Linked DNA regions of Homo sapiens: all the other regions are linked to region 1. Evidence: promoter capture Hi-C in 16 types of primary human blood cells and fetal thymus (Javierre and others, 2016). All regions are on one chromosome and are shown on one strand. The core of a region is centred on a gene start or on the middle of the fragment in contact, and the rest is flanking DNA. Distances in the headings are between cores, read along the strand shown. Region 1 holds the start of RAB9B (RAB9B, member RAS oncogene family). Region 2 has its middle 11 kb from the start of TCEAL4. Region 3 overlaps TCEAL1 (transcription elongation factor A like 1). Region 4 has its middle 10 kb from the start of TMEM31.

Evidence for each region. The method cuts DNA at HindIII sites, captures the fragments that hold promoters and counts their contacts. A CHiCAGO score of 5 or more calls a contact.
Region 2: a fragment that was not itself captured here is called in contact with the fragment with the promoter of RAB9B in region 1 in 1 of 17 cell types (total B cells); the score reaches 7.2 in total B cells.
Region 3: a fragment that was not itself captured here is called in contact with the fragment with the promoter of RAB9B in region 1 in 1 of 17 cell types (total B cells); the score reaches 5.1 in total B cells.
Region 4: a fragment that was not itself captured here is called in contact with the fragment with the promoter of RAB9B in region 1 in 2 of 17 cell types (total B cells and naive B cells); the score reaches 6.6 in total B cells.

What each region holds. Positions count from the first base shown.
Region 1 is chrX:103,828,781-103,835,776 of GRCh38, forward strand. It overlaps RAB9B (RAB9B, member RAS oncogene family), which reads right to left and starts at 3,477. Exons shown (of 3, transcript NM_016370.4): 1 at 3,280-3,477. The HindIII fragment of the contact is 1,396 bases long and covers 2,850-4,245 here.
Region 2 is chrX:103,592,881-103,599,876 of GRCh38, forward strand. No RefSeq gene overlaps it. Among named protein-coding and RNA genes, the nearest start is that of TCEAL4, 11 kb to the left of the region's middle. The HindIII fragment of the contact is 1,266 bases long and covers 3,696-4,961 here.
Region 3 is chrX:103,629,905-103,636,900 of GRCh38, forward strand. TCEAL1 (transcription elongation factor A like 1) reads left to right here. Exons shown (of 3, transcript NM_004780.3): 3 at 1-1,049. The coding sequence starts at 13. The coding sequence ends at 492. Among named protein-coding and RNA genes, the nearest start is that of TCEAL1, 4.4 kb to the left of the region's middle. RefSeq lists an enhancer at 1-25. The HindIII fragment of the contact is 1,877 bases long and covers 313-2,189 here.
Region 4 is chrX:103,697,206-103,704,201 of GRCh38, forward strand. No RefSeq gene overlaps it. Among named protein-coding and RNA genes, the nearest start is that of TMEM31, 10 kb to the right of the region's middle. RefSeq lists enhancers at 1-583, 584-1,334. The HindIII fragment of the contact is 6,329 bases long and covers 1-5,907 here.

The DNA of each region.
Region 1 (6,996 bases), core at 2,227-4,726:
GTGCACACATAACTTCTGGGCCTATAGGCTCTATGCCAAGGGAAAAAGAGGAAAAGCAATGTGGTTCAGTGTCAAGAGCACTGAGCTAGCTGGCAGTAATCAGGACACCAGGGTCTTCATCACTGTTACACCATTCATTTATTTTATGAACTTGGGCAGGTCATTTAATCTTTCTGTTTCAGTATCTTCTTACATAAAAATAGAGCAGATAATACCTGCCCTACTTAACAGGATTTTGGGGGAGAATGAAAAGCTTATGAAGTTTGCAAAGATTTGTAAGCATTTTTTGAAAAATTTGGTTTGAGATTTTTATTCCTCTGGCTCCTCCACCTCCTTTCATGCACTGGTGGGGGCCTTGTGGCTCAGTATTAACCCTTCTCAGAAAGGGCCTGCTAGTGAAAGTATAAGAATTCTTCCTTTTCTCTTTCTTCCATATTTGAGAATGCCTTGTTCCTCAACAAGCTTGAACATCTGCATATGGCACAGAATCTCAGCATTGAAGGGACCTTCAGGGTCTTCTGGTCCAATCTTGCTACTGATATTTGAGAAAACACTACAGTGCCTATTGTGTGTTGTGTCCTTACTAAGGAAACCCTCCACTCTCCTCTGCTGTCTCCAACTCCCATTTATTTTCTAGAAGTAAAAATGAATACAGTTTAGATTTGTCTCCTTGCCTTCATTCAATCCTGCTGATTTTCCCTTGAAGTATCATTTTCTAGTCCTGTGCTACCATCCTCATTTTGGCCCACAATTTCTCACATCTAATCTATTGTGAAAGTTCTTCTCTCCCTGCTTCTGGTGTCTCCCCACTCAATCTACTTTGCAAAGCTTCATCACTCAAACATCCATTGGATGTAGATACTGTTGGGAATTAATAAATGTTTAAGGCAAGGTCTTGCCCTCAGGGAGTTTACAAATTAACATGCAAGCTCAGGATCTCATTGTTTACAGTTGAAATAATGTCATTATACTGACTTATTTTGTTAACAAACTTTTCCTGTCTTTCTTACATGATCAATTTTAAATTCCTAGATAGTAAGCTCACTGTATACATCTTTGAAGCCCCTTCAGTGTGCAGCACCAGGATCCTCCATGGAGATAATAAATATTTGTTTACCAATTAAATGATTAGGTAGGTGCCCAGAATTAATGCCTCTGAATTGATGCCAAGGTACAATAGATCCATAGTTCTGTAAGATGCCAAAATACTATTATTTATAAGGTAACTAAAGAGCAGAAGTTATGAACTTGACTCGATCATTTTCTGGATGGGGAGTAATGGGAATTCCACCTGTTGAAAGTCAAGGGAAATGCTCCAGTTTTCCTCCCCCTACTCTCACATTTTAAAAATAAGTATATACATTTCCCCATTCCTACCCAAAACAAGAGCAGAATAATGATATCCAGTTGATGTTGTCGGTGGGTGCTGGCCTCTCCACAATCATTTATCATTGTTTGAAAATGAATGTCATGTCCTTTAGTACATACTTAAATTAAAAAGAACTAGCACAGTGTAAAAGCAAATGAAATCATTTTTTCCTCCCCCAGAATATGCCGGATTTAATCCAAACCTTTAAACAAGGTAACATTAAGCAGGCAAATGAATTCTTTGATAACACTAAATACGTAAATAGGAAAGTCAAATGACGTATGCATCCCTTATGGGTCCTCTGTCGGGCGAGCATTTGGACCAAAACGCTTATTCTGATTTTGATCCCATTCAGAGAAAGATCTGACTCTAACTGAGTAAAATATTCGAGAGACGCAATTCCCCTTTCCTACCCCCACAAACTCATTAATGAGCATGCTCTAAGGATAGTTTACTAACTTTTTTTTTTCCCATCAGGGTCTCAGTCTTGGAGAGTAAGGTGAATTAGGAATTTCCATAACCAATACTCCCCAGCTCTTTGTTCTTTAACACACTTGAAACCTTCTGAATCTGCAGTACCCACAAAGCCTTATTCAAATTATTGTATTTAGTTGGGAATGCTTAGAGGTGGGAGTGGAGGTGGGGGAGGAGGCAGTACAATGAAGAAAAAGAAGTTGAACCTTTGAAAATAGTACATTTTAGTATGATGATGGAGAGAAGAGAGGCAGAAAAGCAAATTCGCATCAGTTCAGTTGCCATGGAGTGGAATGATGCTCAAAATCAGTAGTGCAGATTGCTCGGAGGCAAGTCTTGAAAGGGATGTGTACTGCAGGGATCGATAGGGGAAGAGCAACTGGGGAGGGCTAGGCACTGGATGAGAGTGGCACTGTTGGAAGTCTGTACAGGGGAGGAGCCATGGTTGGACCTGTGGGGAAAGCCCATCTTGTGGCGACACACTGGTAAGGGCTACTCAACTCACTGTTGAATGCTGGCACAATAATTGGAAATATTGCACTGAAGAATTGGGCGCGGCTATATTTATGTAAAATTCAACACGGATGAGAAATGATTGAATGTTTGAGTGTGTTTCCAATACAACCCAATACTTGGCGTTGGTGCTGGTGGTGGGTGCTTCGTAGCGCGGAAACCCTCTGACGCACTGGATTCATTTTGCAGAGCTAACAAGTTATCAGCTACATCCATGCCGACTCCAAATGCCACAGCTGTCATGCCACTGAAACGCTATTCCTACATTCATGCCCACATTTATATCCTATATGCAACTCAAAGGGTCCAATGTGGAGTCCCACATCTAACCTTTCACTGCTCACAACGACAGCTCTAGGGCTATAAGCCCAAAGGCACACTAGATAGCAATCTGGCATCGTCCCCAGGACACTTCTTCCTCAGTAGACTGCCCAGGGACAGATAGGTAGATAAGGTTTGGATGACATCAAGCGAGCTGAACACAAGGAAAAAAAGCTTCCTTGGGAGACAAGAATGCTGGCATCTCTACGACAGGGGCACTGTTAGCATTACGGACCTAGAAAGTGAGATGTCACACATAGTCCCAACTACCTCCGACCCAGGTCCTCTCACCTCACCCCCAGCTCTTAGAGCTAGTCGGCTGTGGCGCATGCGCACTGAGCCACACCCGCTCCCCACGGAGCCCTGCGCCTCTCTGCTCGGCTCTGGCAGCAGCTCGGGATTACTCAGCAACGCCCCCCTGCACTGTCACCTGCCCCCGACTCCGACCTCGGGAGCGGCTCAGTCCCTTTTCTCAAGCTACGAGTGGTCCTGGGGATCAACTAGACTTTCCTTTCTCCCTCTTCTCACAGGCCCCCCACCTCCCGGCCTTCCGGGTCCTCCAGCCCCTAGCCCCTGTTCCTGCCCACGCACAGGCACCTTACCCAACACAATGGGAAGGAAACAGGAGAGGGCCGCGGGTGCCAGGCAGGTCAGCTCTGCGTGCCGGGAATCCGGCTCCTTAGAGTCACCGTCACTGCTCCTGCTGCCTCCTCGTCCTCAATGGGGCAGCAAGTGCGGCTTGGACCTCGGTGGCCTGACAGCTGCCGCTCGCGCCCGCCGCTGCCGCCGCGCAGCGTCTCGAGCCCGCGCCCGCGCCCGCCAGGGGAGGGGGCGGGGCCCGCGCCGCCTCCTCGTGCCCCTTTCTCGGCGGTGGGGACCCGGTGTAGCCGCCTCCCGCCCTCCATGTGGCAAGCGCTCCCTGGCTCGCCCACTCTTCTTTCATGCTCATCGTCCAACCCTGGTCTCCCTTGTCCTCCTTCTCCTCCCCTAGCCGATTAGTAGGCACAGCGGCAATAGACCGTCAAATATTGCTCTTCCACTTAGCTCCTCTGCAGCCTGGGCCTAAGCCCTCAAGCAGGGCTAGCCACTGCCCCACTTCCTGCAATTATCCTCTGATCTACCTCATTTATCCTAGCTCAAAATCCTTTAATTTTGCCAAGAGGGTAGTACATACACCCTCTTGTTTCAAATAACTCAGGAAAACACATGATCACAACACATTGCTAGGCCCTCTAACTGGCTACAGCTTATGAAATTTTCAGGCAATTAAAAAAAATGTCCACATCTGTAGCGCAGGCATAGAGGACACACTGCCCTTTACTCTTACCAGATACAGTTCTAGAGGGCCACACAGGGGGCATTACTTGAATTTCCCGGAATTGCTGCTGGGGCAGAATTTGATGTTTTAATTGTGCCTAGCCGACCAGCTAGTCTCTTTTTGTTGTTTTCTGTAGCCCTCTGGTACTTCCAACTAGTTTGTGATTTTCCCCCTGGAATTGAAGAAGGACAAAGCTCCTGAGGTCATTTAGCCTGCACTCCACCTCTCTGTCAGGCAGCTCCATCTCTGAAGCTTCCCCATTGCCCGAAACCCTGTGACCTTGTGGCACAGGCCCTCACTCATCTCATGACCCCGTCCAGGCCCTCACACATACCCGCTACTTCCATCTAGGCCACTCTTCCTCTGTCTCTTGACAAGGCAATCGTGCAATCAATCTCCGCAGGCCCCAGCTTAAATGTCACTTCTCAGGATAACCTTTCTCGATAATCTCAGAATAGAGATGGTGCCCCAGTTTATACTCTTGTAGCCTCCTGTAACTTGCTGTATTTTTCCTTCATAACACTTACCCATTTTTGGTGGTACATTTAAGTGTATGATTATTTGGTTGACAGCTGTCTTCCCTACTAAACTATAGTGGGGAAGGACTATGAGGTCAAGGACAACGTTTGTGTTCACCACCGTATGCACAGAGCCTAGGGCAATGCTTGCTGCATAGGACATGCTCAGAAAATATTTGCTGAATATGAATGAATGCTGTATCACTAATAGTTGTTATATTTAAATAAAATAAATTGATGTAACTGAATCTCATGTGCTCCTATTTAAACCAACCCCGTTCCCCACACATACACTCTAAAACACTCTTCTGATGAAGACGAGATTCACACAATCCTCTAAATCAAATTTTCCGCATACATTTTAGTCTATTAAAAAACTATTGAGCATGGGCCCCAACATATGTATAAGGATTTATAGATTATATACATGTACTACTGTACATGTATACATTACACATTACTTTAAACATACATTTTAATGAGTAAACATTAAAATACTCCACAGAAATTTTAAAAGAATGAGAAAAATAAATATATTGATGTTCCAATGTTTTCTTTTTGCACCTCAATAAATAGTTTTGTGAAATGCTTTAAATAACAGTCCTTCATATTAGAGTAACTCGTCTTTAGGTGTAACAATCTAGACTACTTTTTCATTTTCTCATAGATGCCATTTTCCAACAGTTTAAAAATCTCTGAGAAACCCCCAAACCAACTGGCAAGTTTTAAGGATCTTTTAGTTTCTAAGCTACCTCGTTCTGTAGTCAGGATCTCACAACTGCTGAAAGCACCACACGTTTAGTGAATGTTGGAACACCTAAAGGTAAGAAAAATCCTTTGTTAGACCAAAGATTCCTACATGTAAATCCTATATTAAAAGAGTCTCTAGAGGCCACTTAAAAAGCAGCTACTATTATCTTTCTAGAATGGAAGCAACATGACTAACACTAGTTGTGAGGGATCAGCAAAAATGGACAGCACGAAGATTCAAAGTAACAGCTGTGGATGGTTTTGTGGCTCTCAGATGGGACTATTCCCAATGGTCAATCATTGAGATCTGTCAAATAGTGTCCTTCACACACAATAAAAATTCTATTTTTATAACACAGTTACACACACACACACACACACACAATAGAATCATAGTGTAGTCGGTAGATAGAAGGCCAAACCAAGATTGCGTTTGGATACCAGAGATAGGGTTACCTTCAGAGTCACACACACACACACACACACACACACACATACGCTCTTCAACATTCAATGAACAAGATCTCCCAAAGTCTCATCCTGATCAGTTTGAAATACATTGACCTGAGCTTCAGGAAGACATAATTGTAATGTGATTAATTTAAAAGAACAGCCTGGTCCAGCAGTCACAAGTTGTTATGTACAAGAGGGTTCCGTGAAGCATTCAAATAAGTGTATAAACACTGCATACTATTTCCCTTCCAGAAGAGTCACGTTGCATATTAAAACATTAACGTCTCTTGGAGTCCTGAAGTAAAGAAATCTGTTGTGTTGTTTTTCAATCTTACATTTCCAAAACTTTTGTGAACATGAATTTCTTTTGTTTATGGAACATCTATTAGCAGGACTAGAACAGCTCAGGACCCAATTTAGCAACTACTGTCCTAATCATTAATATTGAACATATTCATAGGCCAACGTATTTGTCATCTTTGTCCTAGAATATTTATGTGGCAACTATACACGTTATATTTTCCAGATAGTCCTGATTTCAAATACTTTGTCCTATTGTCCTAATTTTTACAACAATACTCATGAGATCATCTAATGTTTTATTCAGAAATTATGGCAGTCATAGATATGTAAATAGGAAATTAGTAAGAATTTGTGAACTATTTACCTATCATTGTCCAAGAGCAAGTCACAGTTTCTGGTGATACAATATTTTTTTAAAAAATCATTTGACACAGGGATAATATTATGGAATAGGAATACTTTGCCAGATTTTTCATAGCCTGAAGGAAAGATCTCTTAAGATTATCCAATTATGGAAGGCATCAGTATGAACTCAGTTTAGTCATTTAAAAAAAATTTTTAAGCTCTGTCCACTAAAAATACTTAGAAACAATGAAAATCTCAGTGTCCAAATTCACCTATAGTGCCCATAGGATGGTTCTAAATGCTATTTCCCAATAAAAGGACCCAGGATTACTTAAATAAATGGCTGACTTCAGATATGTGGCAAGAAATATCCAAGATGAACATAAAATATCTTGTCACACCAGATAGCAAGGAAGCTAAAAACATTATTAGAGTTGAGTCAAAAGGACTTGAAGAGGCTGTCATCAGTCAAACACGGGGCAATTTGAGCATCAGTAAAGATAATAACTACAATGAATTGAAATATATCAAATATGTTTAAATATACAAATTCATAAAAACACTTAAAAACATAATTGCTCAATTTGGCCAAACCTAGAAAGCTAGCTCATTATTTTAAAACTGGTAAATAA
Region 2 (6,996 bases), core at 3,079-5,578, 240 kb before region 1:
ATCAACTATATCCATATTGATTTTCTGCCTGCTTAATCTATCAATTACTGAGTGGCAGGAGGGGTTATTGAAGTCTGCAACTCTAATAATGGATTTTTGTCTATTTCTCCTTTCATTTCTATTAGTGTTTGCCTCACATATGTTGACACTCTATTGTTAGGTACATAACTAATTATAATTATTATGTGTTGGAGAATTGTTCCCTTTATCATTATGTAATGCCCCTTTTTATCTCTGATAATTGTCTTTGTTCTGAAGTCAGTTCTGTCTAAAATTATATAGCTACTCCAGCTTTCTTTTCATTAGTGTAGTAGGATATATCTTTCTCTATTGCTTTATGTTTAACCTCTCAGTCTTATGTTTAAAGTGGGCTTCTTGTAGACAACAGGTAGTTGGGTTTTTTCTTTTTTTTGAGATAGGGTCTCATTCTGTCACCTAGGCTGGAGTGCAGTAGCATGATCATGGCTCACTGCAGCTTTGGCCTCCTGGGCTCAATCGAGCCTCCTACCCCAGCCTCCTGAGTAGCTGTGACCATAGACACATGCCACCACACCTGGCAAATTTTTGTATTTTTTGTAGAGATGGGGTTTCACCATGTTTCCTAGGCTGGTCTCAAACTCCTGGGCTCAAGTGATCTGCTCACCTCGGCCTCCCAAAGTGCTAGGATTACTGGCGTGAGCCACTGTGCTTGGCCTAGTTGGTTTTTTTTAAAATTCACTCTGACAAATTTTGTCTTCAATTGGTGTATTTTGACTACTCACATTTAGAGTGTTTCTTGATATATTTGGATTAATATCAACCATGTTCGTAACAGTTTTCTATTTGTTGTCCAAGGTTTCTTTTTCTGCCTTCTCTGGTTTTAATTATTTTACATGGTTTCATTTTGTCTCCTCTCTTAGAGTATCAGTTATACTTTTTTAAACAACTTTTACTGATTTCTCTTGAGTTTACTACATATTTTAACCAATCTAAGTCCACTTTCTTTTTTTTTCTTTTGAGACGGAGTCTCACTCTGTTGCCCAGGCTGGAGGGCAATGGTGCGACCTTGGCTCACTGCAACCTCCACCTCCTGGGTTCATGTGATTCTCCTGCTTCAGCCTCCCGAGTAGCTGGGACTACAGGCATGTGCCACCACGCCGGCTAATTTTTTTTTTTTTTTTGAGACAGAGTCTCGCTCTGTCGCCCAGGCTGGAGTGCAGTGGCGCAATCTCGGCTCACTGCAAGCTCTGCCTCCTGGGTTCACACCATTCTCCTGCTTCAGCCTCCTGAGTAGCTGGGACTATAGGTGCCCACCACCTTGCCCGGCTAATTTTTTTTTTTGTATATTTAGTAGAGACAAGGTTTCACTGTGTTAGCCAGGATGGTCTTGATCTCCTGACCTCGTGATCCACCTGCCTCGGCCTCCCAAAGTGCTGGGATTATAGGCGTGAGCCACCGTGCCCAGCCAAGTCCACTTTCAGATAACACTCTTATGCTTAACTTGTATGTAGTGCACATACCTTAATGCAGAGCATTTGTCATTCATTTCAATTACTCATACACTATAATCACTCAGTATATTGTTGCTATTATTTCTTCAGACAGTTATCTTTTAGATCAATTAAGAATAAGAAAAATAAATATTTTTCTTTACTTTCATTTATTTCATTTCTAATCCTCTTTCATTCTTTATGTAGATCTCAGTTGCCTGAAGAAAATCTTTTAACATTTCTTAAAGTGCAGGTTTGCTGGTGCTGAATTCCATCAGTTTTTATTTGTCTGAGAAAGTACTTATTTCATTTCTCCTTCACTTTTGAAGGATAATTTTGCTGGATATAGAATTTTAGGCTGGACACAGTGGTGCACAACTGTAATCCCAGCACTGTGGGAGGCCAAGGCAGGTGGATCACTTAGCTCAGCAGTTTGAGACCAGCCTAGGCAAAATGTAGAAACTCTGTCTTTACAAAAAGATACAAAAATTAGCCTGGCATGGTGACATGTGCCTGTAGTCCCAGCTACTCAGGAGGCCGAGGTGGGAGGATAGCTTGAGCCCAGGAGGTCTAGGCTGCAGGGGGCCATGATTGCACCACCGCTCTCTAGCCCGAGCCAGGGTGAGACCCTGTCTCAAAAAAAAAAAAAAAAAAAAAAGAATTTTAGGTTGGTTGTTTTTTCTTTGAACAGTTTAAATATTTCACTTCACTGTCTTCTTGCTTGCATGGTTTCTGGTGACAATTCCACTGCAGTTCTTATCCTTGTTCTTCCACAGGTAAGGTGTTTTTTTCCCCTCTGGTTTCTTTCATTATTTCCTGCTGGGGATAGGCCCCCAAATCTGGCCATAAACTGGCCATAAACAAAATCTCTGCAAGACTGTGACATGTTCATGATGGCCATGATGCCCACGCTGAAGGTTGTGGGTTTACCGGAATGAGGGCAAGGAACACCTAGCCCACCCAGGGCGGAAAACCGCTTAAAGGCGTTCCTAAGCCACAAACAATAGCATGAGCAATCTGTGCCTTAAGGATATGTTCCTGCTGCAGAGAACTAGCCAGAGCCCATCCCTTTGTTTCTGCCCATCCCTTTGTTTCCCGTAAGGAATACTTTTAGTAAATCTATAATCTATAGAACAATGCTTATCACTGGCTTGCTGTCAGTAAATATGTGGGTAAATCTCTGTTTGGAGCTCTCAGCTCTGAAGGCTGTGAGAACCCTGATTTCCCACTCCACATGCCATATTTCTGTGTGTGTGTCTTTAATTCCTCTAGCGCCACTGGGCTAGGGTCTCCATGACTGAGCTGGTCTCGGCAATTTCCTCTTTGTTTTTGGTTTTATGCAGTTTGAATATTATATGCCTAGGTGTAGTGGTGTTTTCTTTTGGTATTTATTCTGCCCATTGTCCACTGAACTTCTTGGATGTATTGTTTGGTGTCTATTAATTTTGGAAAGTTATCTGCCATTATTACTTCAAATATTTCTTCTGCTTCATTCTCTATTCCTTCTTCTGGTATTCCAATTTAGCACATGTTACTTGTGTTGAAATTGTCCCATAGTTCTTGGATATTCTCTTCTGTTTTATTTTTTAGTCTTTTTTTTCTATTTGCATTTCAGTTTGAGAGGTTTCTACTGACATATCTTTAGCTCATTGATCTTTTTCCTCAGCTGTGTCCAGTCCATTGATGAACCTATCAAAGGCATTCCTTGTTTCTGTTAGTTTTCTTTTTAATTTCTAGTATTTTCTTTTGAGTCTTTATTGGCATTTCCTTCTCTCTAGCTTCATTATCCATCTATTCTGGCATGTTGTCTACTTTTTCCATTAGTGCCCTTAATGTATTGATCATAGTTATTTTATTATTATTTTTATTTTTTTAGAGACAAGATATTGCTCTGCTGCCCAGACTGGCATGTGGTGGCATGATCACAGCTCACTGTAGCCTCAAACTCCTGGGCTCAAGCAATCCTTCTGCCTCAGCGTCCCAAGTAGCTAGGACTACAGGCAGGCACCACCATGCCCAGCTAATTTTTTTTTTTTTTTAAGAGACGAAGTCTTGCTCTGTTGCCCAGACTGGTCTTGAACTCCTGGCCTCAACAATCCTCCTACCTTGGCCTTCCAAAGTGCTAGAATTACAGGCATGAGCCACCACACCCATTCTGATCATAGTTATTTTAAATTCCTTGTCTTACAATTTCAAAAACTGTATCATATCTGAGTCTGGTTCTGAAGCTTGCTTTGTTTCTTCAGAACTTTTTTTCCCCTTGCTTTTGCTGTCTTGTAATTTTTTGTTAAAAACTAGACATGCTATATCAGGTATATAGGAACTGAGGTAAATAAGGTAAATAAGCCTCTAGTGTAAGGAGCTATGTTAATCTGGCTAGGAGTTGTGATTTGATTAATGTTTGCTATTGCTATAGGTGCTAGAGGCATCAAATTTCTCAGTGTTCCTGTTTTTGTCTCCCCTCTTGACTTTGGGCTTCCCAAACAGAAACACTCTGGTTTTTGCAGCTCTTTCCATTGTAATTTACTATTATACTAGAGCCCTGATGGTGTAGTGATAAGACATTGGGGATAGGGAGTATTCTATAATCTTCCAATTAAATCTCCATCTTTTAGTGGACCTATGTCTCTGGCCTGTGACCTTCGCAAGTGTTTCTTTTTGTATAGCGTCGATCCTCCCCTTAGATGACACAAGAAGTGTAGAGGGTGATGGAGCTAGGTAATCACTGTTACCCCACAGCTCTGAGACAGAGCTCTGGTAAAATCTTTCCCCCTAGAGAGTAGACATTTGTTATGAAAAAAGCTCTGAGATGTAGAGAGCAGGGCCTTCTTAAATTACACAGGCCAGTCATTGAGTTTACTGAGAATAGAGTCCACAGACTTAGGGTCCAGGACCAGCTGTCTTTTTATCTTCAAAATGGAGCACAAAGTAGCTGACTCCTGCCCATCACCACACATACAACTCACAGGATATGAGAGATGCAGTCTAGCAGAGTATCTTAAGATCATGGACTATTGGGGTCATGAGTTCCAGTTACTACTGGAACTTACTATCAGCTCTTTGATCTTGGAAACATTTTTTGACCACTCCAAATATCAATTATCCCATATTTACAGTAGATTTGATGACTCTCCTTTCACTTGTGACCCCCACTAGTTATATTGGGCCAAAAAGTATGCCCCTCATAGAGCCTGAATTCTCTAACACCAAATCAAATTCTCTTAGTACAAAATGCCAGGAGGAATGATGTGAGAAAAGGGCAAAAATATTCCCAAATATGGAAGTTTTCTAGTTTTCTTTTTGTTATTAATTATTGATTTCTGTATAGGTGTATTGAGGGTCAGAGAACATGTGTATAACTGCAATCCTTTTGTATTTATTGTGACATCTTTATGACCTAATAATTAATTTTTGTAAAAATGTTTCATGCCTACATTTACTGGGTTCAGAGTTCTGTATACGTCCTTTAGAAAAGTTTGTCAAATTGTTCCAAGCTTCTTTATCATTTCTGAATTTTTATCTGCTTGCTCTATCAGTTACTGATAACAATTTAAACTTAACATATTAAGTTTCTCATTATGGTTGTGAATTTGTTTCTCCTGTGGTTCTGCCATTTTAACATTTGATCATGAAAGATAGCACACATATAGAGTCACACACATTCACAAGATGTAGAGCTAAATTATTTATTACAAAATGAAAAACTGGGTAATCACCACTCATGTCAAGAAGTAGAATACTGTTAGCAGTCCAGAAATGCCATTGATGTCCCCTTCAGTCATCCCCCTTCCTTACCACTAGAGCTAATAATAATCCTGAAATTTATGGTAACCCTTTCCTTGTTTTTCTTTATATTTTATATCCTAAGCAGTACAGTTTAGGATATTGCCTGTTTTGTGAACTGTATATAAATGGAACTATACAGCATGTATTTTTTATGGCTGGCATATTTTATTCAATACTATATACAATGAAACTGAATGTTTATGTCCCTCCCCCAAAAAATTATATGTTGAAATCCAAACTTCCAAGGTGATAGTATTAGGAGTTGGGGCCACTGGGAGGGATTAGTGCCCTTATGAAAGAGACCCCAGAGAGCTCCCTCACTCTTCTACCATGTGAGGTTACAGTGAAAAACAGCCATCTGTGAGGAAGAGGGCCCTCACCAGACACTGAATCTATCACCTTGATCCTGTACTTCCCAGCCTCCAGAACTATGAGAAATAAATTTGCTTTTTATAAGCCATAGTATTTTGTTATAGCAGCCTGAGCTAAAATGTTATGTTTATGGTATGAATCCATGTTTCTATGTTTAGATTTAATTAATTTATTTGCATTGATGTGTAGTATACAATTATTGAACATATCACAGTTTATGCTATTGTTTTGTTCTTTATATAAATTTAGGTTATTTCCAGCTTTTCAATATTATATATAATGCGGCTATGAAAATTCTTATATATACCTCTCAGTATACACGTACACAAATTTCTGTTGGGTAGCTATCTATGAGGAGAATTGCATGTTCAACTGTAATATATGATGCCAAACTTCCAAATTGGTTGTATCAGTTTACACTTCCATCAGTAGTGATAACAGTTCTTGGTGCTGTACATCACCACCATTGCTTGTTATTATCTGCCTTTTTCATTTCACTGATAACTAATGAAGCTGAGCACACTTTCATTTTTTTGGACAATTTAGATATCCTCTTTTACGAAGTGGTTGTATTATTCCCATTCTACTATTGGCTTATGTGTCTTTTTCACATTAATTTGTAGGATTTTAAAAATATATTCTGCATCTGAGCTCTTTGTCAGTGAAATGTATTGCAAATAGCTCACCAACTTTGTGGCATGTCTTTTTACTCTCTTTGTGGTGTCATTTGACTAATGGAATGTCTTAATTTCAATGGAATGATAGTTATGATAAGTACTCTGTGTCCAGTTTAAAAAGTCTGTGCCTACATCATAGTTATAAAGATATTCTATATTATTTTCTAGAAGACAGATGTATAATTGACCACAAATTAGTTTTTGTGTATTGCATTAGGGTTTTTCAGAGAAACAGAACCAATCCATAGCAAATATATATAGCACATATATATATATATATATACACACACACATATATATATATATACATATACGCACACACATATATATACACAGAGAGAGAGAGAGAGAGAGAGAGAGAGAGATTACAAGGAATTGGCTCATGTGATTATGGAGGCTAAGAAGTCCCAAGATCTATAGTCAGCAAGTTCGAGACAGGCTCAAGACCCAAGGACAGTTGATTTTTCTGTTCAAGTTTGAAGTCAAGAAAAGACCAATGTCCCAGTTCAAACAATCAGACAGAAGTTCCCTCTTACTCAGCCTTTGTATTCTATTGAGGTCTTCAATTGGTTGGATGAGGCCCACCTATGTTAGGAAGGGCAATTTGTTTTATTCTGTCTACCAATTTAAATGTTAATCTCATCCAGAAATACCCCAGGATAACATTTGAACAAATGTCTGGGCATTCTGTG
Region 3 (6,996 bases), core at 1-2,500, 200 kb before region 1:
AAAATTCCCAACATGGACAAACCACGCAAAGAAAATGAAGAAGAGCCGCAGAGCGCGCCCAAGACCGATGAGGAGAGGCCTCCGGTGGAGCACTCTCCCGAAAAGCAGTCCCCCGAGGAGCAGTCTTCGGAGGAGCAGTCCTCGGAGGAGGAGTTCTTTCCTGAGGAGCTCTTGCCTGAGCTCCTGCCTGAGATGCTCCTCTCGGAGGAGCGCCCTCCGCAGGAGGGTCTTTCCAGGAAGGACCTGTTTGAGGGGCGCCCTCCCATGGAGCAGCCTCCTTGTGGAGTAGGAAAACATAAGCTTGAAGAAGGAAGCTTTAAAGAAAGGTTGGCTCGTTCTCGCCCGCAATTTAGAGGGGACATACATGGCAGAAATTTAAGCAATGAGGAGATGATACAGGCAGCAGATGAGCTAGAAGAGATGAAAAGAGTAAGAAACAAACTGATGATAATGCACTGGAAGGCAAAACGGAGCCGTCCTTATCCTATTTAATGTGTTCGGCCTTTAATTCTGTTTTGCCTGCTAATAGTATTGCCATTGCCACCTGGACTTTCTGTTTGCATTTTCTTAATGCCTTTTCCCATATTCTGAATTTTAACTTTTTGTGAGGCTTTATTTTAGATGTTTAGCATGTAACTCGCTTAAAGTTGAGGTTTCCCCCTAAAATCTACAAGTTTCCCTCTTTCAGTCATGAGCCCTACACATTTGCATGAAAGATGTACATTATATATTGTGAAACGAAAAAAGCAATTTTCAAATGGTATATATTGTATCCCATTTTTGTAAAAAAAATGTATATTTATATATTAATATGCAAAGAAAAAGCTAAAAGTATAGACTTCAAAGGCATAACAGTGGTTGTGTGGTAAGATAATAGGTGATTTTTTAAATTTTTGTTTTATCTGAATTTCTCATTTTTTCAGGACAAACGTTTTACTTGTGTTGCAAAAATATATAATGAAAAAATCACACAATTTTGAAGAAAACTGTCAATCAGCTTATAACGACAATGTGGCACTTAATAAATACTTGTCAGAACTTTAAAAAAAGTGAATCCTATGTTTTTTTCTGAATCTCTTAGGCACAAATATTAGCCAGATATGGATTATATTTAATAGTCATTTTGTTCTCATTTAAATAGGAATAATACTTGCTTTACAGTGCTACTGTGGGACCAGATGAGAAAAAGGTTGTGTGAGCTATGTTCGGGGTCTTTATTCCACCTGCACAGGCAGGACCCCAACCCCTATAGATTCCCTGCAGACATAGGGAAGGTACCCAAAGGAGATCTCACTTGTGCTCACAAACAATTCCGGTGAGATTCCAAGTGAGTGCCACATTCTATTCATGTCCTGCTGTACTCTCAGATACCTACCGTATCTGCTAGGCACAGCTGCTCCTTCTCCTGGGTCCTGATCCTTCCACTGGCTCTCATCCCTGCTGACGTGCTGGACTGCTTAAGGTACAAAGCCTCACTGATTGCTCTGGAGTCCCTGGTGGGCCCAAGCTGAATTGTGTCTCCTGCAGATATATGAATGCCCTTCTTCCAGCTTTAATATTGCACTTAGCTAGGAGGCTACCATCTCAATGCTGCTTAGACCTCAATGTCTTTAAAAAATGCTTAGTAAGGCCAGGCGCGGTGGCTCACGCCTGTAATCTAGCATTTTGGGAGGCCGAGGCAGGCAGATCACGAGGTCAGGAGATCGAGACCATCCTGGGGAACACGGTGAGACCCCATCCCTACTAAAAATACAAAAAAAAAATTAACCGGGTGTGGTGGCGGGCGCCTGTAGTCCCAGCCACTCGGGAGGCTGAGGCAGGAGAATGGCTTGAACCCGGGGGACAGAGCTTGCAGTGAGCCAAGATCGCGCCACTGCATTCCAGCCTGGGAGACAGCAAGACTCCGTCTCAAAAAAAAAAAAAATGCTTAGTAAAATAGTTCTTCCATTTTTTTTTTTTTTCCATTTAGGACCTTCCTTTTCTCCACTGGACTCAAACATGATTCCACCTTTTCTCCACCTGACTCAAACATGATTCCACTAGGTCCTGGGCTAGGAGACAAAATTATTGAGCCAGACACCATGCTGTGTACTCAGAATTGGAACTTCCCTCCCAAATATCCAAGGATAACTATCATTTTAATTGTCTAACTTGCCTTAAGATGAGTTCTCTCTCAGGGGCTTCTGGCAAGCTTGCCTTGCCAATTCAGCTGACTTGCTCAACTTGTATAAATTAAAGAGGAAGATAATGCTTAGGCTCAAACTAAGACATTCCCCCTTCTACACTGCTCCATATCAGCAAGACACATGCAAAACTACTTTCTACAACATTAAAGTACTATATATGTATATGTACATAAACATATATATTAGATATGATTTCTCTACTAAGCTACCTTTATAAATCCTAAGATTTTGTTTTATTGATTCTGTTAGTGCTAGAGATACAGAGTGGTTAATAATGATTAAAAATCATGACCCAGTCATGAATTCTGAGATTCTCTTTGATTGACTATATAAGCTTTACTGTGTTGACTTCTCTAGAGCTATGATTTGCAATTCCAAAAGGAACGTGGTGAAGGAGGGATTGTTAACTGAAATTCAACATTAAAATTATTTAAATATTTTATATATCAGTGTTTCCCTTATAAAAAATGCAGAAACCCGTTTTCTACGCCAGACCCAGTAAATCTGCTTTTTCATAAATTAGCACACTAAAAGTTGGACAGCCACTGGCATATATGGTATACTTCTGATTTTATTGAGAATAAACTATGATGTAAATGGAAGAAAATACAGATAATTGTGTCAGAATTAAAAGGGTGAAAGCCTCATCCAAGCATATTTTTAAGTAAGCAACTAAAGATAGTCATACAAATTTTATAACATAAAATTTAGATTTCTTACAGCAAAGCAAGACCTTACACAAAATTAAAACCTAAGAGACAACTTAATAGAAATGTATTTTCCATGACTGATGTTATATAATACCTTACATTCCATACTTTCAATATGAGTAAAATGCATCAGAAGTAAATTCAAAGTTCTCCTTTAGTAATGATCTCAAAAAAACGGTTGAGCCAGCCCTGTACCCTTGGCTTTCTTTTGTTTTTATATTTTTACCATACAATGCCATTTGGAGGAGGTCTTCATGTCTCCAGAACACTCTTCAAGGCCAATGACAGCCTGATGGGTGCTGGTAAAACTGGAATTCTGGCTGGAGTGAGATCAGGTTCCAGGCTCACTGGAATTAGTTTTATAAGAGAGGATAAATCCATCCCCCTAACGCTAAGAGTGGTGGTGCTTAGGCAGGAGGTGGAAGGGCTCACTCAGGCCACATTCCCCTCTGGGGTGGGTCTGACTTTTGTTTCTCTGCTCCAGCCTACAGCAGGCACAGGGCCCTCTTAGGCTAATGGCCAAGCTGCCCTGCACAGACACACCTGGAGGAGGAGAACTGACTGCCCTATTGCAGGTCAGAGCACTTTGCCTTTCCCTCCTTTTCCCTCTCTCTTTTAGGGAACATTTTGTAGGGGAGGAGATAAAGCCCCAAAGTGTCCTGACAGGAAACATTCATTGGGATAGTCTTTGAGCAAGCAGATGTCTGTACAGATCTGACCAGGTAACTTGGGGTTGAAGCAGAAGGGGCTGACCCGTCTCTCAGAGTCCAGTGAAGTAGCCCCCAAGAAGACTGGGGCAAACATAGAATTAAGACAGCACACAAAACCTCACCCATCCCTCTCCCACCCACCTTGCTCAGAGTCCCAGAAGGGCCTTGATGTGCCCTGGCCTGTTTGGTTGGTTCTGCAAAGACTTTAGCTCTGTGTCTGCCTGGTGCACTATATTTGATGTCTGAGTCAGCACAGACCCTGAACTAGAGGAGACCCCAGATAAAGGGAACTTGCAAAGACATGTGGTCCTACAACTCAGGAGAAAAGTGGTGTTGCCTCCTATCTGAAAACCCTCATGCACTGCAGGCCCAGCTCACGACTTGGGAGCCAGGACAGTCAAGCTGTGAATTGGTGTGAAGATGCTTTTTAAGGCATTGGTGGTGGAGGGTCAGCAGCATCCAGAGCCCCTGGGCCTCTGCTATGATTGAACGTGTTTCCCACAATTCATATGCTGGAAACTTAATCCTCAATGCAACAGGGGATGTGGGATATGGGGCTTAATGGGAGGTTTTTAGGTCATGAGGGCTGTACTCTCATGAATGGATTAATGCCATCATAAAAAGGGCTTGCAGGAGTGGGTTCTCTCCCATTCTTCTGCCTCATGAAAACACAGAGTTCCTCTTTCTTGCCTTCTGCCTTCCTGCGTGTAAGAATGCAATAGGAAGGCCCATCCCAGATGCCAGTGCCTTGATCTTGGACTTCCCAGCCTCCAAAACTGTAAGATAATAAGTTTCTATTCTTTATCAATTATCCTAGAGCTGGGCACGGTGGCTCATGCCTGTAATCCCAACACTTTAGGAGGCCAAGGCAGAAGGATCGCTTGAGCCCAGGAGTTCAATACCAGCCTAGGCAACATAGTGAGATGCCATCTCTACAAAAAATAGGAAAAAAAAAAGCTGGGCATGGTGGAGTGTGCCTGTAGTCCCACTCACTTGGGAGGCTGAAGTGGGAAGATTGCTTGAGCCCAGGAAGTCGAGGCTGCAGTGAGCCATGACGGTGCCACTGTACTCCAGCCTGAGCAACAGAGACCCTGTCTCAAAAAAAAAAAAAAAAAAAAAAAGTTATCCAGTCTCAGGTATTCTGTTATAACAGCAGAAAATGGACTAAGACAGCCTCTCCCCACCTTCCTGTCCACACAGAAGGCTGGTATCTCTATCACATGTCCAAACAGCAACTTGCCTGGCCAACTCCGGAGCAGAAAGCATTGAGGGTCCAGGACCATGGAGAGAGAGCCCTCTGCTAACCAGGGTCCCCCTGCTCTTAGGAAACAATGCATACGACTGCAAACTCCCAGGAGTGGTGAAGCAGCATAGATGGGATCAGGCTCAGGGTCCCTAGAAAAGGACCAGAGACAACTCCTTCCCCCATTACGAAACACTAATCTAAACAAATAATTATTTTTACAAATGAAGGATAATATTTTGCAGATAAATAGGAGGCAAATCCTGTGTTCTAACTCAGATTTGTTTGCATCAAATTCTGTGTTCTTCCCACTCTACCACACGGCCACCAATTTAGATAGTAGCTTTTCAGGGCTTAGGGCATCATTGATTTAGACTTGCTGAGTATGGTATTCTTGTTGGTTTGTGGATTTGAGTGAGTTTTCTCATTTTTATCTCAATCCAGGTAGAAATGTCTAGTAGGCAGTTAGATATGTGTTTGAAGTTTGGAAAAGAGATTAGAATGGAAATATCAATTTTGGCTTATGATACCAGGAACATAGCAAGTGGCCCAGGAGTATTTGTTGAATTAAATGAATGAATGAAGAATGCAATTGTATACTCTTCTATCCTTTTCTATGAATATGTATTTTTCAAACAGAAGTGGGATTCTACTGAACACACTGGTTCATATCCTGTGTGTAAAAAAAATAAACTTTTTCTTTAAACTTTCTTTTTACCAAGATAATACCTGTTTCAGGAGAATGTTTACATATTGAGGTAAGTGCCACCCGGTGATCAGAGTCAGGATTGTGGGTCAAACATGGCTAACAAAGGAGAGCAGGGAGGAGAGAAACTATGAGAGGAGAGCTGGTGGAGAGGCTTGATATTTGGGAAGGGAATGTCTCAACCCTGACTCACACTGGAACCACACAAGTATCAGGCTCTTCTTGGGGATTGAGGTGGCCCAAGAAGCAACATATAGTTAGGTGGTTTTTCCTTGTCTCAAGTCAAGATAAGCGTGTGCATCTATGTGTGCATATGTATGTGTGTTTAAGCTGAATTGTCTTATACTATTTTCACTTTTTCTCTGATTGTAGAAGTTATATATTTCTACTAGAAAATATATGGAAATGCAGAAAAGTGTAAGAAGAAGATGCCTACAGTTCCCAATATTGAGGAGCATGTACTTACATTGTGTGTGTATATCTCCTTTTATGTATTCTATCCATTTACTTTGTTATAAAGTAAACATATATATTATATTACATATATAATACATTTAAATGCCTTTATGTATTCATTTTTATATATGTAATTATATCTTACAGAGCATATGTTTTCTTTTCTTTTTTTTTTTTTTTTTTTTTTTTTTGCTCTGTCACCCAGGCTGGAGTACAGTGGCACGATCTCGGCTCACTGCGACCTCCACCTCCTGGGTGCAAGCGATTCTCCTGCCTCAGCCTCCCAAGTAGCTGGGACTACAGAGGCATGCCACCATGCCTGGCTAATTTTCTTTTTCTTTTGTATTTTTAGTAGAGATGGGGTTTCACTGTGTTAGCCAGGATGGTCTTGATCTCCTGACCTCGTTTTCCACCCACCTTGGCCTCCCAAAGTGTTGGGATTACAGGCGTGAGCCACTGCGCCCAGCCTATTTTCTTTATTCTCTTACTTTTATTTACATATGTGCCATGACATTCATCTGTATGAGTATTCCATCAACCACACTTCTTGATGGTGATGTCAATGATGAAAATAAAATTGTGCTCTTTGGTCTCAGGGACCTATGTCTGAGGGCCACATGTATGGATGGGCTCCCCAAAAAGCATAAGGCAAGGGAAAGATCACTGGCTTTGTTTGGAGTTGAGGAAAGAAATTTAAAATGGTCAAGCACCTGCTTTGGGACAGATACTTCATACTTGGAGTTTCCTTTAATCCTTTTAACACTTTTAGGAAGGTATTGCTTATTATAGATGAGAAAACTGAAGCCCCGAAAAGTTTAGGTGGCTTACACAGGGTCACACAGCCAGTCAATGGAGGAACTTTATTTGAACTCAAATTTGTCTGACTCTTAAGTCTGACCTTTTAACCATTATGCTTTGCTTGCTCCTAAAATTTCACACTTTCTCTCTCATTGCCAAATCTAGTGGCATTCATCTTTTAGATGTC
Region 4 (6,996 bases), core at 1,493-3,992, 130 kb before region 1:
CCTTTCACAGCTTCAACTAAGTTGAGAAAAAAGGGGGACTACACTGAGGGCCTGAGCTTTGCCCAATCAAGCCCTCAGTATCCCCATGTTGTCTGATGAGCAGACTAGACTAAATGATCTGGGAAGGCCCTTCTAGCTCTGCTGTGCCAGGTTCTAAAATTCTTTTTTTTTTTTTTTTTTTTTTGAGACGGAGTCTCGCTCTGTCACCCAGGCTGGAGTGCAGTGGCGTGATCTTGGCTCACTGCAAGCTCCGCCTCCCAGGTTCATGTCATTCTCCTGCCTCAGCCTCCCAAGTACCTGGGACTACAGGCGCCCGCCACCACGCCCAGCTAATTTTTTGTATTTTTAGTGGAGAAGGGGTTTCACCGTGTTAGCCAGGATGGTCTCGATCTCCTGACCTCGTGATCCACCTGCCTCGGCCTTCCAAAGTGCTGGGATTACAGGCGTGAGCCACTGTGCTCAGCCGCCAGTTTCTAAAATTCTAAGACATTGTTATCTGTTGAGCCAGTTGTCTTATGGGAAATCCCATGAGACATTTGTTTTCTAAAAGAGCCAACTGTTTATTTCTCTGCATGGGCATATTGGTGAGAGTTAAATGCAGTCAGGATAGCAAATGTGTTGCTGTGGCCAATTGTCTTAAGCATTCTTGCCCTTCTGATGGTCAGGGCTGTCTTTGTAACAATGATTCTCATTGTCTGAAGTAGTTAAGGATTAGCATTAAACTGAGGACTGATAAGACTGAGGTCATTAGCCAGGCATTGTTAGTAAGTAAAAGGGGAGGTAGGGTGACAAGTATTCAGGACTTCTGTAGGTTGATAACTTGAAGAGGGGCTTAGAGTCAGAAAGATGCCCAATTGTTAGATTCCTTTGTCATCATAGCCCTTGACTTTAGCCTATTCTCAAAAAATGATCTTTCTATAATATTGCCAAATAATACAGCTGAAACATCCCTTGACCTGTTAAATGGCTTAAATTGAAAGTTATAGATGATGCAGTTTTGATTTTCAAATTTTTTAAAGAAGCAGTAAACTCTTCTCATCCTCTCTCCTCACTCCAAAGAAAATATTATGGTAAAGCAAGTATATAAACTGAGAGTGGAGTTATGCAGATTGAAACGTCTGTATATATGTGTGGGGGATGGGTATGGCTGCCTGTCCTTCCTTCCCTTCCCATGAAACCCTAGGACTCCTTGAAAATGACTTTGAAAATCCTTTGCCAAATAGATAAATTATTGTACTGTACTGAGAAATAGGTAACTTTGGGTAAGTCCCTTAAGGTCTCTCAGCCTCATTTCCTCACCTGTTACATGGATACCTGGTTATCTTACCTCAAGTTTGCTTTGAGGATGACATGGCACTTAAGAGCTTTGAAAAGGGGGGAAAAAAAAACCACAAAGATACTTGTTACCTTGATAGTGTAGTACTTCATGACACGACCCTTGCAAAGAAAGTATAGTTAGTGAGAACTAGCACAGCAATTGGGTGGTTAAAAATTTTTTTGAACTACAGTACTCATGACTTTTAAAAACTTATATAGTAAACACTAATTCATTTCTTGCTATGAGCTTGGTATGAGGAATACAAAGATAAATACCTTATAATCCCTGACCTCAAACTCATTTATCTGTGAGGGAAATAGACAAAAGAACAGTATCTAATCTTACAAGTACAAATATAGAGCTATGTACAGGGCATTATCAGATAACCTAAATCTATCTGGATGTTAGGGTCATAGCAGTTTGAGAATGCCTCACAGAAAACATGATATCTGGCGAGAGCCTTGACAGATGAATAGAATACCTCAGGTGGTCAAGGGAAGGCGTTGAAAGGCTAAGGAACAGCATGTGCAAAGGCACAGAGCATTAGACAGGATCCGGCTTGCTGGGTTCAGGGATCTGTGGGTGGATCAGCAAGGCCAAATTAAGGATGCATTTAGTGGAGTGAGGGGAGTGATGAGAGAAGAGGCTGGAGTCACTGGCAGGAGCCAGAGAAGAAAATTTCTGGTAGGCCAACTTAAGCCACTTGGGCTTTTTCCTGAGGCAATAGGGAGCCGTTGAAGGATTCAAAGCAAGGAAGTGTCATAAATAGACAGTTTTAGAAAGGCCAAATTGGCAATAGTGTGGAGGATAGGAAACCACACTGGAGTCAAAGATTGAACCAAGATGAAGTCAGGGAGTATAGAGAAGGAGGCAGGAGTTTCAGAAATATTTGAACGGTAAACACAGCAGGACTTGGTAATTGATTTTATCTGAGGGCTGTGGAAGAACTAGTTTTCAAGGACGACTCCCAAGTTTCTGGCTTAGATGATTCATCAAGATTAGGAAAGTTGAAGGACAGAGTGGCAGAGAAAGTTTGAAGGAGGTTGTGAGTTTTTTGGCTTTTTTTTTTTTTTTTTTTTTTGAGACGAAGTTGCGATCTTGTTCCCCAGGCTGGAGTATGATGGAGCGATCTCCGCTCACTGCAACCTCCGCCTCCCGGGTTCAAGTGATTCTCCTGCCTCAGCCCCCTGAGTAGCTGTTACAGGCGCCTGCCACCACGCCTGGCTAATTTTTGTATTTTAAGTAGAGACGGGGTTTTACCATGTTGGCCGGGCTGGTCTAGAACTCCTGACCTCAGGTGATCCGCCTACCTCGGCCTCCCAAAGTGCTGGGATTACAGGCGTGAGCCACCACGCCCGGCCATTTTTTGGCTCTTGAGGTACCCATGGGATGAAGTCAGAAATGTAAGAATCATCAGCACATAGGTTATCACAACCATGGAAACAGTCAAGAACAGCCAAGCAGTAGGCGTGTGGTGAGGAGAAGTGAAATCAGGAGATTAAATCCTGGAGAATAAGAACACATAAGAAGGTATGGCAGAGGGTCAAGAGAAGAAATTAGAGAATGAAGTCCATGAGAGAAGAGAATCTCAAAGAAGGTGTGACAACTCTGACAAATGTTACAGAGAAATCATGGAAGGTTAGGGCAGAAAAGTGTTGACTTGACATGGCGATTAAGAAGGTAGTATGAGGAGGCCGGGCACGGTGGCTCACGCTTGTAATCCCAGTACTTTGGGAGGCCAAGGCGGATGGATCACAAGGTCAGGAGATCGAGACCATCCAGGCTAATACGGTGAAACCCGTCTCTACTAAAAAACCCCGTCTCTACTAAAAAATACAAAACATTAGCCAGGTGTGGTGGTGGGCGCCTGTAGTCCCAGCTACTCAGGAGGCTGAGGCAGGAGAATGGCGTGAACCCAGGAGGTGGAGCTTGCAGTGAGCCGAGACCGTGCCACTGCACTCCAGCCTGGGCAACAGAGCAAGACTCCGTCTCAAAAAAAAAAAAAAAGAAGGTAGTATGAGGAATATGGGAAAAGCATTTGAGGGGTGGGTAGGGGGAAGAAGGCGGAAGATAGATTACAGTGTGTTAAGAAGTAAATGGTAGAAGTGACAATGTGGAAATGGCTAGTAAGGACATTTCTTTTAAGAAACTTGGGCCGGGTGTGGTGGCTCACACTTGTAATCCCAGCACTTTGGGAGGCAGAGGCAGGTAGATCACTTGAGGTCAGGAGTTCAAGACCAGCCTGATCAACATGGCAAAACCCCATTTCTACTAAAAATACAAAAATTAGCCGGGCATGGTGGCACACACCTGTAGTCCCAGCTACTTGGGAGGCTGAGGCAGGAGAATCTCTTGAACCTGGGAGGCACAGGCTGCAGTGAGCTGAGATCACGCCACTGCATTCCAGCCTGGGCAACAGAGAGACTCCATCTCAAAAAAAAAAAAAAAAAAAAAAACCAACAACAAAGAAAAAAGAAACTTGGTGGTGAATAAAAAGAGGGCAATAGGTCAATTAGGTCAATGGAGAGAAATTCAAGGTCCAATGGAGAGTAGTTTGTCTCCTTATTTTTTCTTTTAGATGGAAGACTCACTTCTTCCTCTTTTTCTTTTTCTCCTCCCCCTCTCCCTCCTCCTTTTCCTTCTTCCTTTTCTTCCCCGCACCTGAAAAAGCTGAGGCTAAGAGAGATTAAGCCATTTTCCATGGTTGTATAGTTTTTAAACACGTTTTATGCCAGCAGGAAGAACCTAGTGTCAGTTGAGAAACAAAATATAAAGAGAAGTGATTTTAGCTTGACCCTTTTTGTGAGCGTGGGCTTAGCAAGTGAGACTCACAGCATGGAATTTGAAGAGAGATTATGATGATGTAGTCTGGTCATGTAAAAGCTAACTTTAATTGAGCACTTACTATTTGCCAAGCACTGACTTAAGCACTTTACCAGCCGGGCGCGGTGGCTCACGCCTGTAATCCCAGCACTTTGGGAGGCCGAGGAGGTGGATCACGAGGTCAGGAGATCGAGACCATCCTGGCTAACACGGTGAAAGCCCGTCTTTACTAAAAATACAAAAAAAATAGCTGGGCGTGGTGGCAGGTGCCTGTAGTCCCAGCTACTCAGGAGGCTGAGGCAGGAGAATGGCGCGAACCCTGGAGGCGGAGCTTGTAGTGAGCCGAGATCGCGCCACTGCACTCCAGCCTGGGCGACAGAGCGAGACTCCTTCTCAAAAAAACAAAACAAAACAAAACAAACAAACAAAAAAGCACTTTACCTGCATTATCTCTTGCTTTCTCTCTTTTTTTTTTTTTTTTTTTTTTTTTGAGTCAGGGTCTTGCTCTGTCACTCAGGCTAGAGTACAGTGGTGCAATCACAGCTCACTGTAACCTCAAACTCCTGGGCTCAAGCAATCCTCCCACCTCAGCCTCCCAAGTAGCTAGGACTACAGATGTGCACCACCATGCCCAGCTAATTTTTACATTTTTTTTGTAGAGACAGGATCTCTCTATGTTCCCCAGGCTGGTATTGAACTCCTAGCCTCAAGCAATTCTCCTGCATCAGTCTCTCAAAGTGCTGGGATTACAGGCGTGAGCCACTGTGCCCAGACTGCATTATCTCATTTAATTCCCACAACAACCCTATGAGGTAGGTATTGTTATTGCTTTCATTTAACAGATGCAAAAGCTGAAGCACAGAAAAATTTGATGATTTACTCAAGGCCACATAGTTACTGCATGCTGGATATTTCAGAGCCTTCAAATGTCCCTTTAGAGGAGGAAACTGAGACTGAGGGAGGTGAAGTCATTTGTCCAAGAACCCATATCTAGTAAGTGCTGGAATTGTAATTCAAACCCAGGCTCTGTCTGGTACCAAAGCCACCAGTAATCACTACACTGTCATGAATAGAAGCTATTAAAATAAAGAATATGTGTGCATTTTTCTCGATCCAGCTCTGTAAGGCTAAATGTTCCTTGAATTTAGATGATGGTAAGAATTTTCCCTATTCCATAAAATTGATAGTGAGAGCATGTACTTCCTTGGTAATGCCCCATACGGTATAGTGCAACCAGGATATTTGTAGAAAGCCTCATGGTGAAAGCAGAGACTGAGAAAAACAGAGCTACACAGGCAGAGTGACAATAGCTGAGTTCTCATGTGACTTCTTCAGGTGGCTCCCTGACATAAGATTTACTTCATCATCCTTCCATGAAGAGAATGCTTTGTGAGGGAGAAAGCCCCTGGCTCAGATGCCCTTCTAGGATTTCCTAACAAGCTGTTCTGATACCACCAGCCCAAGTTCATAGACTGTACGCATTATCCTAGTTGTGAAGTCTCATCATGTAGCGAAGAGTGTGAGCTGAGAAGACCAGCTTAATTGCTATCCCCTCAGAGATGACTGGCTTTCCAGTGAGAACAATGTGTGGAGCATGCAGAGGCCAAAATCCCTGCTACTGTACTCACTAGTCACTGCCAGGGCTTTTATCGGGTGATTGGTTTTTGAAATATAGCTTGATACTAGTCTTCAGATTTGGAATATTACTAATGTTTAATCAGAACATTATCATTTTTTTTCAGAGCAGGAGTGGAAGTTTATTAAAAAGCTTTAAAGCAGGAAATAAAGTGCACTTTGAAGAGATCCAAGTGGGCGACTTGAAGAACAAGTGCCCCGTTTAACCATGATCCTAGGACTTTATAGGCTGGCCCACCTCCGGTGTCTTGCGCCCCTTTCCCATGATTCTTCCCTTAGGGTGGGCTGCCTGCATGCACAGTGCCCTCCTTACCCTCGGGAAGTGAGCATGTGCAGTGTGTTTAGGAAGTTGTACGCTTGAGAACATTGTCATTCTTAATTCAGGGATACAATTTACAAGGTTCTGCTGTCTTCTTAGCTTTGGTTCTGTTACACCCAAAGAGCAGTTTGTGTGTGTGGTATGTATGCATGCATGTGTGTGTGTGTGAACTCTATCTGGTTTTATAAAATCTCTTTTTGGTCTATTTTTTCTGTGACCAATAAGTTCACAGAAAGAGAATGAATGTAGTATACAGTAAACCGAATGGGAAGTCACACTATCATTCTACATGTACCTACTGAGTGTTGCTAGGTACCAGGAGCTATGTGAGCTAAAAAGTTGTATGATTGTCAGGCATGGTGGCTCACCCATGTAATCCCAGCACTTTGGAAGGCCAAGGGGGAAGGATCCCTTGAGCTCAGGAGTTCAAGACCGGCCTGGGCAACAGAGTGAGACCCTGTCTCTACAAAAAAAAAAAAGGTGTATAAGACACAGTCCTTGCCGTCAAAGAGCTTATTCTACATTTCCTCCACTGAGCAGATGATAATGCTACCTGGCTTCCTAATTCCCTAGTGGTTCCCATGCTTGGTTGATTTTGTCTTTCATTAGCAGCACAGCCTAGGAAGACCATTAATCCTAACATAGTGAAATCAAATTTAAGATTTTGATAGCAAGAAATGATAAGATAATAATATTCCATTGAGAGTGCAGAGAGGCAAGTGGGAACACACAGGAAGATTCCCAAGAGGTGATATGTTCTGGACAAAGTTGAGATAGTTGCATGGCCCAGTGAAAAGAGAAAATAACTTCAAGAGTCAAATAACCTTTCAACTAGAAGCATGCCCATTCTTTGGTGACAGGTAGGGAAAAATGCTTATGGGAGAAAGCTAAAGGAATAAAT